Regions from separate parts of the Homo sapiens genome. Here all the other regions are linked to region 1. The links are contacts of gene promoters, found by promoter capture Hi-C in human tissues and cell types (Jung and others, 2019). All regions are on one chromosome and are shown on one strand. The core of a region is centred on a gene start or on the middle of the fragment in contact, and the rest is flanking DNA. Distances in the headings are between cores, read along the strand shown.

What was found. The method cuts DNA at HindIII sites, captures the fragments that hold promoters and counts their contacts. A contact is called where the count stands out against the background at its distance.
Region 2: a fragment that was not itself captured here is called in contact with the fragment with the promoter of GNL2 in region 1 in 1 of the 25 tissues and cell types used here (liver).
Region 3: a contact is called between a fragment that was not itself captured here and the fragment with the promoter of GNL2 in region 1, in 1 of the 25 tissues and cell types used here (heart left ventricle).

Annotation. Positions count from the first base shown.
Region 1 is chr1:37,594,389-37,597,936 of GRCh38, reverse strand. It overlaps GNL2 (G protein nucleolar 2), which reads left to right and starts at 2,000. Exons shown (of 16, transcript NM_013285.3): 1 at 2,000-2,178. The coding sequence starts at 2,115. RefSeq lists enhancers at 2,082-2,271, 2,442-2,501. The HindIII fragment of the contact is 8,299 bases long and covers 951-3,548 here.
Region 2 is chr1:38,825,994-38,829,541 of GRCh38, reverse strand. No RefSeq gene overlaps it. Among named protein-coding and RNA genes, the nearest start is that of RRAGC, 32 kb to the left of the region's middle. The HindIII fragment of the contact is 5,006 bases long and covers 1-3,548 here.
Region 3 is chr1:36,519,511-36,523,058 of GRCh38, reverse strand. No RefSeq gene overlaps it. Among named protein-coding and RNA genes, the nearest start is that of CSF3R, 38 kb to the right of the region's middle. The HindIII fragment of the contact is 7,915 bases long and covers 1-3,548 here.

The sequences.
Region 1 (3,548 bases), core at 751-3,250:
TGGGGATCAGAGGGACAGTGTGGGGTGGAAGGGGGCATCTTCACTGATCATGAAGTTTTTTCCAAATAGCTCTCAGAGCTTCCCTAACACAGGTCACAGTCAGGGCCTTCCCAGCAGAGCTGCATTTAATCTCATGATACTTGCCCTTGGGGCAATAAAAGCGAAGCTTGAGGGACAGAAGGTATTTCCAGCTCTAGCCTATGACATGGCCTGCTTTTGCTCTAAAGAGAATGTTTTGGGGTTTGTTTCAAACTCAGAGAAATAAAGACTCAATCATCCCCTGCTCAATTAGAATACCTCACTTTATAACAAATTGTTTGTTTTTATGAAATGAGCTACACTGCATGAATCCACCCTTCCTCTTGCCTAACCATCTCTTCTTTGGCCTATCCAGAGGGTACAAAGATGGCCATTTTCTGACAATTTGAGGTACCAAAAAAGAGAGAGGGACCAGGCGAGGTGGCTCACACTTGTAATCCCAGCACTTTGGGAGGCTGAGGCAGGTGGATCACCTGAGGTCAGGAGTTTGAGACCAGCCTGGCCAATGTGGTGAAAGCCCGTCTCTACTAAAAATACAAAAATTAGCTGGGCATGATACCATGCGCCTGTAATCTCAGCTACTTGGGAGGCTGAGGCAGGAGAATTGCTTGAACCCGGGAGGTGGAGGTTGCAGTGAACCGAGACCGGGCCACTGCACTCCAGCCTGGGCAACAAGAGCGAGACTCCGTCTCAAAAAACAAAAACAAAAACAAACAAACAAAAAATAAATTGTAAAAAGAGAGAGGGCTTCTTGGTTCAAACACTGGCATCTAGACACTTTATTCTGGCTAGTAGAAACAGAAATCACTGGGTCTTAATGCCTTCCTTCATCCTCAAGGCAAGAGACATTCCCATCTACTCATTCTTTCACTTAATGAATATTTTTTGAGTCCTTTGTTTCAGATGCTATTCAAGTCTTAAAGACACAGCAGTGAACAAATTAACAAGGTCCCTGCTTTTAAGAATCTTACATTCTAGTTTGGGGGAAGCAGCCAATAAACTTGTAAAAAAAATTCAACTAGTGATAAATGCCATGAAATAAATAAAACAGAATACTGTAACAGAATAACTGTGAAAGGGTGAAAGGTGGCTGATTTAGACAAATTAGACAGGAATGAGTTCTCACAGCAGGAAGGGTCACCAGATAAAATACAGAACGTACAGTTACATTTGAATTTCAGGCAAACGATGAATACTTTTTTAGTCTAAGTATTTTCCAGGCACTGTTGGAGGTGTACTAAAGAAAAGTATTCATTTTTTTTCTCTGAAATTCTAATTTAATTTGGTGTCCTGTATTTCTATTTGCTAATTCTTGCAGGCCTACCAATAGGTGATATTTGAGCTTAGGATTGAATGACAGCTATGCAAAGATTCTGGGAAAGAGTGATTCAGGCAGAGAGAATATCCAGTGTAAATGTCAGAATAACCAGAGGGAGGGACGTACACATGAGATTAGATAAATAGGCAGGCAGGGGCCAGATCACAGAATCCTGTAGGGATGGCAAAAAGTTTGAATCAATCTCTGTCTCTGTCTGTTTCTCCCTTCTCCCTTCCCCTACCTCTCATTCTAAGAGTGATGATAAGCCACTGGAGTTGTAAGGAAGAGAATGACACCTCCTAACGGATATTTGGCTGCTGTGTGGTCGGCAACTTTTGGAAGGACTTAGAAGACAAATTCAGAAGACAAACTTAAGCTTGTGCCACTGGCCTGGGAAGAAGCTTCTTTATTCGGAGGTGGACCCAACTGGGAGCTCTGGCCGCGCGTTCAGGTTAACTAGGCGGTTGCTATGAACGGGCAGCTTGGCGGTTGCTAGGGCTGGAGCGGGCTGGGGCTCCACGCAGGGCGACGCCTAGGCGGCTGGAGCGGGGGCGGAGCCAGGAGGGTGACGGCGCGCGCCGCGCGTTCACAGGAAGTCGCTCTGAGGCCGAGAGGGACGCGAGCGGAAGTGACGTACGTCGTGCACACGTGGTCCGGCGTGGTTCAGGCGGGTGTCTTCGGCCGGGCTTGGGAACATAAAAGTTTGTTTCACCACGTAAGCCGGACCTCGCACTCCGGTCCCGGTCTCGTCGCCAAGATGGTGAAGCCCAAGTACAAAGGACGGAGCACCATCAACCCGTCCAAGGCCAGCACAAACCCAGGTACAGGCGGCAGGGCTGATCGAGGGTGGAGCTTGGAGGAAGTATAGGGAAGGGCTCCGAGGAGCACTGGAGGGGAAGGAGGGTTACTCGAGTGGCATTGCTTAGAATGACTACGAGCGGGGTGGCTGTTGGGGATGAAAAGGGAAAAAGGAAAGCAATATTTGTGGTGGTTTCTTCTCAGGGGGGAACTGAGGAGGGCTCAGTGCACGCCTGGCAGGCCAAAGTGTAGTCAACTGGTCTGAAGTCAAGGAAAGTGAACACTCAGGCTGACAGCCTTGGGTCCTCTCCAGTTGAGAGATGCAGAGAAAGTCAGATTAAAAATGGTGTAGGTTGACCCTTCGGGCCTTTTACACGTGATCATACTTGCCTGCCACCTTAGCTTTGACCTTTAAAATGAGAAAGGGCTTATAGTTTTGGCCCTTGGAATTATTCTATCTGGTAAAGTGCTTAGAGAACCCTACAAAGAAGTCAGTATGATCATTGCAGTAAGGCTGTTTAGGAGATGTGTGTAAGTTTTGGCGAGGTTCCACCTGTACGATTAACAAGACATCCTATGGGAGAGTTCCTTCCATTCAGGTTTAATTAATAAAACTTTGTTTTAAAATATGGTTTAGAATTTTTGACAATTTTAATGCAAGTTGAATGTTTATTCCGGATTGATAATAAATTATTCACTTTGCACAAACTGGAATCTCAGAATGTTAGACCCCAAAAGGCCCTTAGAGATTATGATTTTACAGGTGAAGAGACTGAATCAAAATACAGGAAGTGGCCTGTCATAATTGCAACAGTTAGTGAGTAGTAGTAGAGCCGCCAGTTTCTACTGTTAGAGACTGTTAGGAGAGCCAATGGGCTGTGGTTTCAGCCTGTCTTCTACTGTATCACTTCAGGACCAGACAGGTGATTTAAGGGGCTCCTGGCCAGGTGTGGTGGCTCACGCCTGTAATCCCAGCACTTTGGGAGGCCGAGGCGGTCGGATCACCCGAGGTCAGGAGTTCAAGACCAGCCTGACCAACATGATGAAACCCCCTCTCTACAAAAATACAAAGATTAGCCGGGCATGATGGCGGATGCCCGTAATCCCAGCTACTCGGGAGGCTGAGGTGGAAGAATTGCATGAACCGGGGAGGTGGAGGTTGTAGTGAGCTGAGATCGCGACACTGCACTCCAGCCTGGGTGACAGAGCACGACTCTGTCTCAAAAAAAAGATAATAATAATGAATAAATGAATAAATAGGTAAATAAAGGGCTCCCAAAATGAGAAGCTAGGCTAGTATTACCCTATTCGTTTGTCCTTCTCTTTCTCTTTGAGATGTAAGGCAAGAATTGCTGTGTTGATTAAACAAAAATCAAACATTAAGAAAGTAAGA
Region 2 (3,548 bases), core at 529-3,028, 1.2 Mb before region 1:
GAGACACAACTTGTGATCCGTTTAAGGCTGCTCAGGGGCAGTGGTTGCTGGGCTTGCTGTGGGTGACAGTGAGGCTGGGGTCCAAGCCAGATGCTTATTCATTCATTCAACAAATCCTTAGTGAGTGCTTGCTGGATGCAAGGCTGTGTTCTAGGTTCCCAGGATCTATCAGTGAACAAGAGAGCAAAGTCCTTGCCATTATAGTGCTGACTGAATTTCAACCTGACAAAAGTTAGGATGCAGATGGGGGAGAACGGAGTCTCAGAGAAGTGAAGTGGCTTGCCCTAAATCACGCAGCTGGTAAGCCAATGAGTGCTGACCTTCTGACTCCAAGCCCTACACATATCAACACATCAAGAGAATAAGGAGGATAAACATTAGAGGTGATTTAACAACAAATTCTGGTGTGTGTGTGACTTTACACACCTAGAATGAACAGATTGTTTATGTCAAAACGTACTATTAAATTAAACAAGAGAAACTAGGAAATATGCTTATTATGTATAATAGAGAAAGTTAATTTTTTTTTTTTGAGATGGAGTTTCACTCTCATTGCCCAGGCTAGAGTGCAATGGCACGATCTCAGCTCACTGCAACCTCCACCTCCCGGGTTCAAGTGATTTTTTTGCCTCAGCCTCCCAAGTAGCTGGGATTACAGGCACCCGCCACCATGCCTGGCTAATTTTTTGTATTTTTAGTAGAGACGGGGTTTCACCATGCTGGCCAGGCTGGTCTCAAACTCCTGACCTCATGATCCACCCACCTTGGCCTCCCAAAGTGCTGGGATTACAGGCATGAGCCACTGCGCCCAGCCTGAAAGTTAATATTTTTTATACAATTTTACAAATCAGTAAAAAATACATTCTAAAACAAAATGAGGGAAAGATATTAGTGTGTGACACGAAGTAGAAGAGGCCAAAACCATGAAAACCCATAAAACCTCACTAATAATAGAAGAAATGAACACTAAAATAATAAGCTTCCCTTTCTCTTTATCAAATGGGTATTTTTTTCAAAGGATGATATTCAATGTTGATAAGAATACAAGAACGGGATCTTTCATACATGTTTTAGCCATCAATTTTAGGATGTTCTTAAATAGATTGATTCTTGTACTTTAAAATAATATAGATTCGAAACATCTCATTACTTTTTTAAAACCATATTAACAGTGTTTTCCAATTTTTCTACAGTGAATGAATATGTATCCTTTTTATAATTAACAATATACATATATGCATTTTTAAAAATCCTTTAAAAATTGAAGGGGATAGGAGGAGGAGGTGTTTATTGGTTTTAATATGTCGTAGAAAATGGTCTTAGACTGAGAGCAGGGACCCGAGTTTATTGACTGCAGTCTGCAAAGTATCCAAGTGCCATCTTGTGCACTCTCACCTGGCCTGGCTGCAGCTCTCCGTCAGAGCCTGATCAGCTCTTCCAGTCCTCTGAGCGTGGTCTGTGCAGTTTCTGTTGTTGTTTTATTACGTGTCTATAGTGGTTCTTAACCATAGTTGCACACTAGAACCACTTGGGGTGAGTATAAAAAAAAATAGTGATACCAGGCCCATCCCAAACTATAGCCATGTGCCGCTTAGTGACAGGGATACATTCGGAGAAATGTGATGTTAGGCAATTTCAGCACTGTGTGAACATCACAGGATGTGCTTGCACAAACCGAAATGGTACAGCTTCCTACATACCTAGGCTATAGGGGGTAGCCTATTGCTCCTAGGCTACAAACCTGTACAGCATGTTACTTACTGAATACTGTAGGCAATTACAACACAATGGTTAAGTATTTGCGTATCTAAACATAGAAAAGGTACAGTAAAAATAAAATCATATGGTACCACTGTAGTATGTGTGGTCCATGGTTGAGCAAATTGTCATTATGTGGTGCATGATTATAAGTAAATAAGGCTGTTCCCATGTGGCTTAATGTCAGTTAGTGTTGAGAACCACCAGCTTCTAGGCTGGATCAAACTACCTCTAGCTACTCTGTGTGCCTACGCCTAGGTCATGTGACATATTGCAGGCTTGTTCAATTGACTTAAATAGGTTTGGTTTCTCAGCTCCTCAAGCACGAAGAATTATTTTTGCTGCTGCTTTTTGTGTGTGTGTGTGCTAACCCAAAGTGTCAAAGAGAGACACACAAGAGGTGAAGAGGTGGCAGATGTATAGCTGTTTGTCAGTACATTGTTCTTCTTTCTTCTAAATTCCTGGGTTGTGACAGCTCAAAGTATCTGTGGTTAGTACAAATTTAAATTTAGTTATTGTTAAAATTTCAAAGCCAAATGAATTTTGATTCATTGGTTAAACAGAGAAATATGTTGCATTACACTATCTGACAGAAGCAATAATTAGTCACCATAGGTTATAGTATTTAACCATCCCTGGCACTCTGTAGGTACCCAATAAATAGAGGAATGAATGAATGAATGAATGAATGACAAAATGGAAATTGGGACAGGACAGCATCTCTCACTTTATACTTGCCTCTTATAGGGGTCTCTAGCTACTTCAACTACTTTCCATTCTACCTTTCACCACTAAAATTTTATTTGAGACTTAGATTGAATATCACTGTTTTGGTGATGCTCTATTCAAAACAACTTCCAAGTATGAAATAATCTTCAAAGTAAACCAGTTTATGGGCTGGGACAATGTTCAACCACTGTCACTGCAGAAATTGGGCACCTGTAGATGGTCTGTCACTTCCTCACAGTGGCTTAATGCGAGCATTTACTCTCATATAAAGTCCCCTCTTTCTTTCTCCTCTGACTGCAGACCCTAAAACACAGGTATGAGCCTAACCTCACTTCTCCTGTTGCATCTGCTCTGGAGGCAGGCATGGTTCTGTGAAAGCAAATGTCACTGCAGCAGCCATAATTTAAGAAGTCCTTTTAAAAAATTCCAATTTCATCATTTCACAGAAGAATAGATCAATATTTCTACAGTTAAGAGTTTAGTTAAAAACCCTGCTGTGCAATGAAATAATGCATCTGCTATTGGCGTAGAGCGACTGGGATGTTAATTCCCTGGTTTTGTGTCAGTTAAGGGCAAATTAGCCTTCCAGCACCAGTCATGACTCATTATGTCATTATGTAGAAGGCACTTACTGTACCTCCACTACTATGCAATTTAGATCCAATAAAAATTGTGACAGCGTTTTTATCCACTTCATTAAGCTACTAATTTCTTGTAAAAAATGTACATTAATCTTTTTATAGCTTCATGCAGAGTGGCATATTTTTAGACTCTAACATTGATTAGGTCCTGGTTAAGAATAATTTTCACAGTACTTTTAAGAAATGTAAATAAAGTTACAATAATTTAATTTTTCAACATAGTTATGACAGTATTGATCTTAAAATGAACATGTTGGCTGAATTAAATGTGTAGCCCAAATGAAATACAGACTGAATATTTAAACATGCAACAAATTACAAAGCACGGCTTAACAATACCCTGCAAACAGAATGAAGAAAGGGAGCATGAACCTTCATGGAAAATATCAATTGCTCATATTTTAAAAGAGGTAAATGGGG
Region 3 (3,548 bases), core at 446-2,945, 1.1 Mb after region 1:
GACGGACAAGGAAAAGGAATAGTCTCTCTCTGTGCCTTCTCCACAGCCCTCCCCTGGACGGCTGTGACTACCTCACTGAGGTCACAGCTAGTGAAGTTAGCAGCTGTGGGATTTGAACTCAGGTCTCCAAAGCTAAGGCTCATGCAAACTTCATTCTGCAACCTCCCCTGCCTGTGCACATGTGCACACACACACACACTTCAACCTCTGGCTCTAAGAACAAGTGGACACCCAAAAAGATAAAGGGGTGAAACAAAGATACCAAAGTGTCCCCCATGCAGCTGGCAGACCCAGAGAGGACCCTGGCACTCACTGCCACCACCAGGAGACCTGGCAGAGGTGGTGTTTGGCTCCATGGGTGCTGGAAGCAGGCCGGGCACTGAGCAAGCACTTTCCACGGCACGCCACACCCTCTGTGCAGGGCCATGGTAGCCTGCCCTGCTATTTGGGGAGAATTTAACAAGGCACCCCTGGCCTAACTATTAGAATGAGGTGCCACCTGGGAGGGCACATGGCTTAACGAGCAGAAGGCACTTTTGTGATTGAAAAAAAAAGAAAAAAGTGTCCTGTCAGCCCCTAACCAGAGCCCTAAGCAGTGCCCTGACTTTGTGGAAGCTGTTACTACCTCCCTGAGATCATGGCTAATGAAGTTAGCAGGTGTGGGATTTGAACCCAGGTCTCCAGAGCTAAGGCTCATGCAGACAGCTCTGCAACCTCCAAATCTGCAGCCAGATATGCATGCATGAGTGTGCGATACACGCATAAACCAAGCGGAGGGTGCTCAGGGGCTCGGGCCTCACAGGGAGACTCGGCCCTCTCTTGAGCGGTCTCCCAATCTTAGGAGAAACATCCCCACTCAAGGGAGCCCCGGAGAGGAAGGCAGAACTCTGCCCTCTGGAGACCCAGTCTGAGGGGGGAGACAGGGCCCTGTCCTGAGAAAGCCCAGTCTGAGGGGGGAGACAGGGCCCTGTCCTGAGAGAGCCCAGTCTGAGGGAGGAGACAGGACCCTGTCGTGAGAGAGCCCAGTCTGAGGGAGGAGACAGGACCCTGTCCTGAGAGAGCCCAGTCTGAGGGGGAAGACAGGACCCTGTCCTGAGAGAGCCCAGTCTGAGGGAGGAGACAGGACCCTGTCCTGAGAGAGCCGGGTCTGAGGGGGGAGACAGGACCCCGTCCTGAGAGAGCCCAGTCTGAGAAGGGAGACAGGTCCCTGTCCTGAGAGAGCCCAGTCTGAGGGAGGAGACATGGCCCTGTCCTGAGAGAGCCCAGTCTGAGAGGGGAGACAGGGCCCTTTCCTAAGAGAGCCCAGTCTGAGGGAGGAGACAGGGCCCTGTCCTGAGAGAGCCCAGTCTGAGGAGGGAGACAGGGCCCTTTCCTGAGAGAGTCCAGTCTGAGAGGGGAGACAGGGCCCTTTCCTGAGAGATCCCAGTCTGAGGGAGGAGACAGGGCCCTGTCCTGAGACAGCCCAGTCTGAGGGGGGAGACAGGGCCCTTTCCTGAGAGAGTCCAGTCTGAGAGGGGAGACAGGGCCCTTTCCTGAGAGATCCCAGTCTGAGGGAGGAGACAGGGCCCTGTCCTGAGACAGCCCAGTCTGAGGGGGGAGACAGGACCCTGTCCTGAGAGAGCCCAGTCTGAGTGCATATGACGGGGATGGGACACAGCCCTACTCTGGGCACTCCACCTGAAGAGAGCGATGAGACAATGGTGAAGGGATGGAGCCCTGCCAGGTCCCCTCTGCCCTTCACTCCTCACAGGCTGTGGAAGCCGGTTCTCCCGAGTCTTCCAGGCTGTGGTCAGGATGAGTGTCTTCAGCCCCAGGGTCTCACAAGGGAGAGCCAGGCAGAGAGGCAGGAGCCAGCACGGGGCTGTCACTCAGCCACACAGCTCCCCAGGGAACACTTTACAGCTTCACCTATTCTGCGTCGCCTGCTTGACGGAGCATCCAAAGCAATTCCAGGACTGTATTTCATTGTCACATTTATTTGCAAGGGGTGTCAGTCAGGCCCCAGAAGCCAGCGGCCCTGCTGCTCCTTGCATTTTGTCACATGTAAACACACATAGGCCCACACTCACTGGCACCCACCTTCAGGTACACCTCGAAACACACAGAGGACACCCAGAAACACAGAGTCATTGCACACATCATGGACATGCCAACTTGGGGTCTGTGAATCAGGGCTACCACATTGCACAATTCCAGGGGGCACCATTCATATATCACTGTTATATATATGGTCATTTATATGCACACAGCATGGTTCAGAGTGTCCCTTGTGCACGCGCACAGACACAAACACACACACACACAGAAGCACACCCTCAGTCACAAACAGATTCCTAGAGAGCCACAGGCCTCAAGCTAAGGGCACCACAACCAGGTTCTTCCCAGGCAGGCTGGCGGGAGACCCACCACACTCCCAGCCTCCTGGAGCCCGTAAGATCAGGAGACAGGAGCAGGAAAAGACTGGGGAGTTCTCAGAAGCCCCTCTCCACACCCCATAAGTTTCTGGAACTGAGAAGGCCCTGCTACCCACCCCCTAACACACATACACACACAGACACGGAGCAGGAACCTCTCCAGCCTCTGAGTGGAAGCCGAACCATTAGCACTAATTACCACCCTTGTTGGGAAAGGGATTTAATTAACTCTCCGCTGGGGCTCGGAGGGGAGCCAGGGACCAAGGCAGGCCTGCTGAGGCTGGGCCTCTTCCTCCATCCTGTGGCTTTTCAGGTTTGGGGGAAGAGCCTTGGGAGAGGGGGTGGGAGGCGGTCACAGGTCTGTACATCTGAATATGTCCTGACACCCATCACACACATTCCAATTATGCATGCATGTGCACAGACACACCTGGAAGTAGCCACACACCTGTGACCCCACACTTAAAAACTGATGATGGGCTGGGGCACAGTGGCTCACGCCTGTAATCCCAGCACTTCAGGGGGCCGAGGCGGGCGAATCACATGAGGTCAGGAGTTCGTGAACAGCCTGGCCAATATGGTGAAACACCGTCTCTACTAAAAGTACAAAAATTAGCCGGGTGTGGGGATGCACGCCTATAGTCCCAGCTACTCGGGAGACTGAGGCAGGAGAATCGCTTGAACCTGGGAGGCAGAGGTTGCAGATAGCCAAGACTGCACCACTGCACTCCAGCTTGGGAGACAGAGTGAGACCCTATTTCAAAAAAAAAAAACAGATGATGGATGGACGGGCCGACAGATGGATGAACATGAGTGGGTAGGTGGGTAATGAAGGTGTGGATACATGAAACTACAGCCAAGTACACGCAGGACACTTGCAGCTGTGTACCACACACAGTCCAGCCCAGGGACACGCATTAGACGTGTTCACATCTTCCTATGTGCACATTCTCGCCCTCTCCCTGCCTTCTTCCTTTTCTCTTTCCAGTGAAGAAAAGCTTTATAGAGTCGTGGTTGAGAACTGAACTCTGGAATTCAACTACTTGGATTTGAATGGTTGAAATTTCCCAGCTATGTGAACTTGGGCATGTTTCTGAAGCTTTCTGTACCTAAGCTTCTTCAGCTACAAGGAGA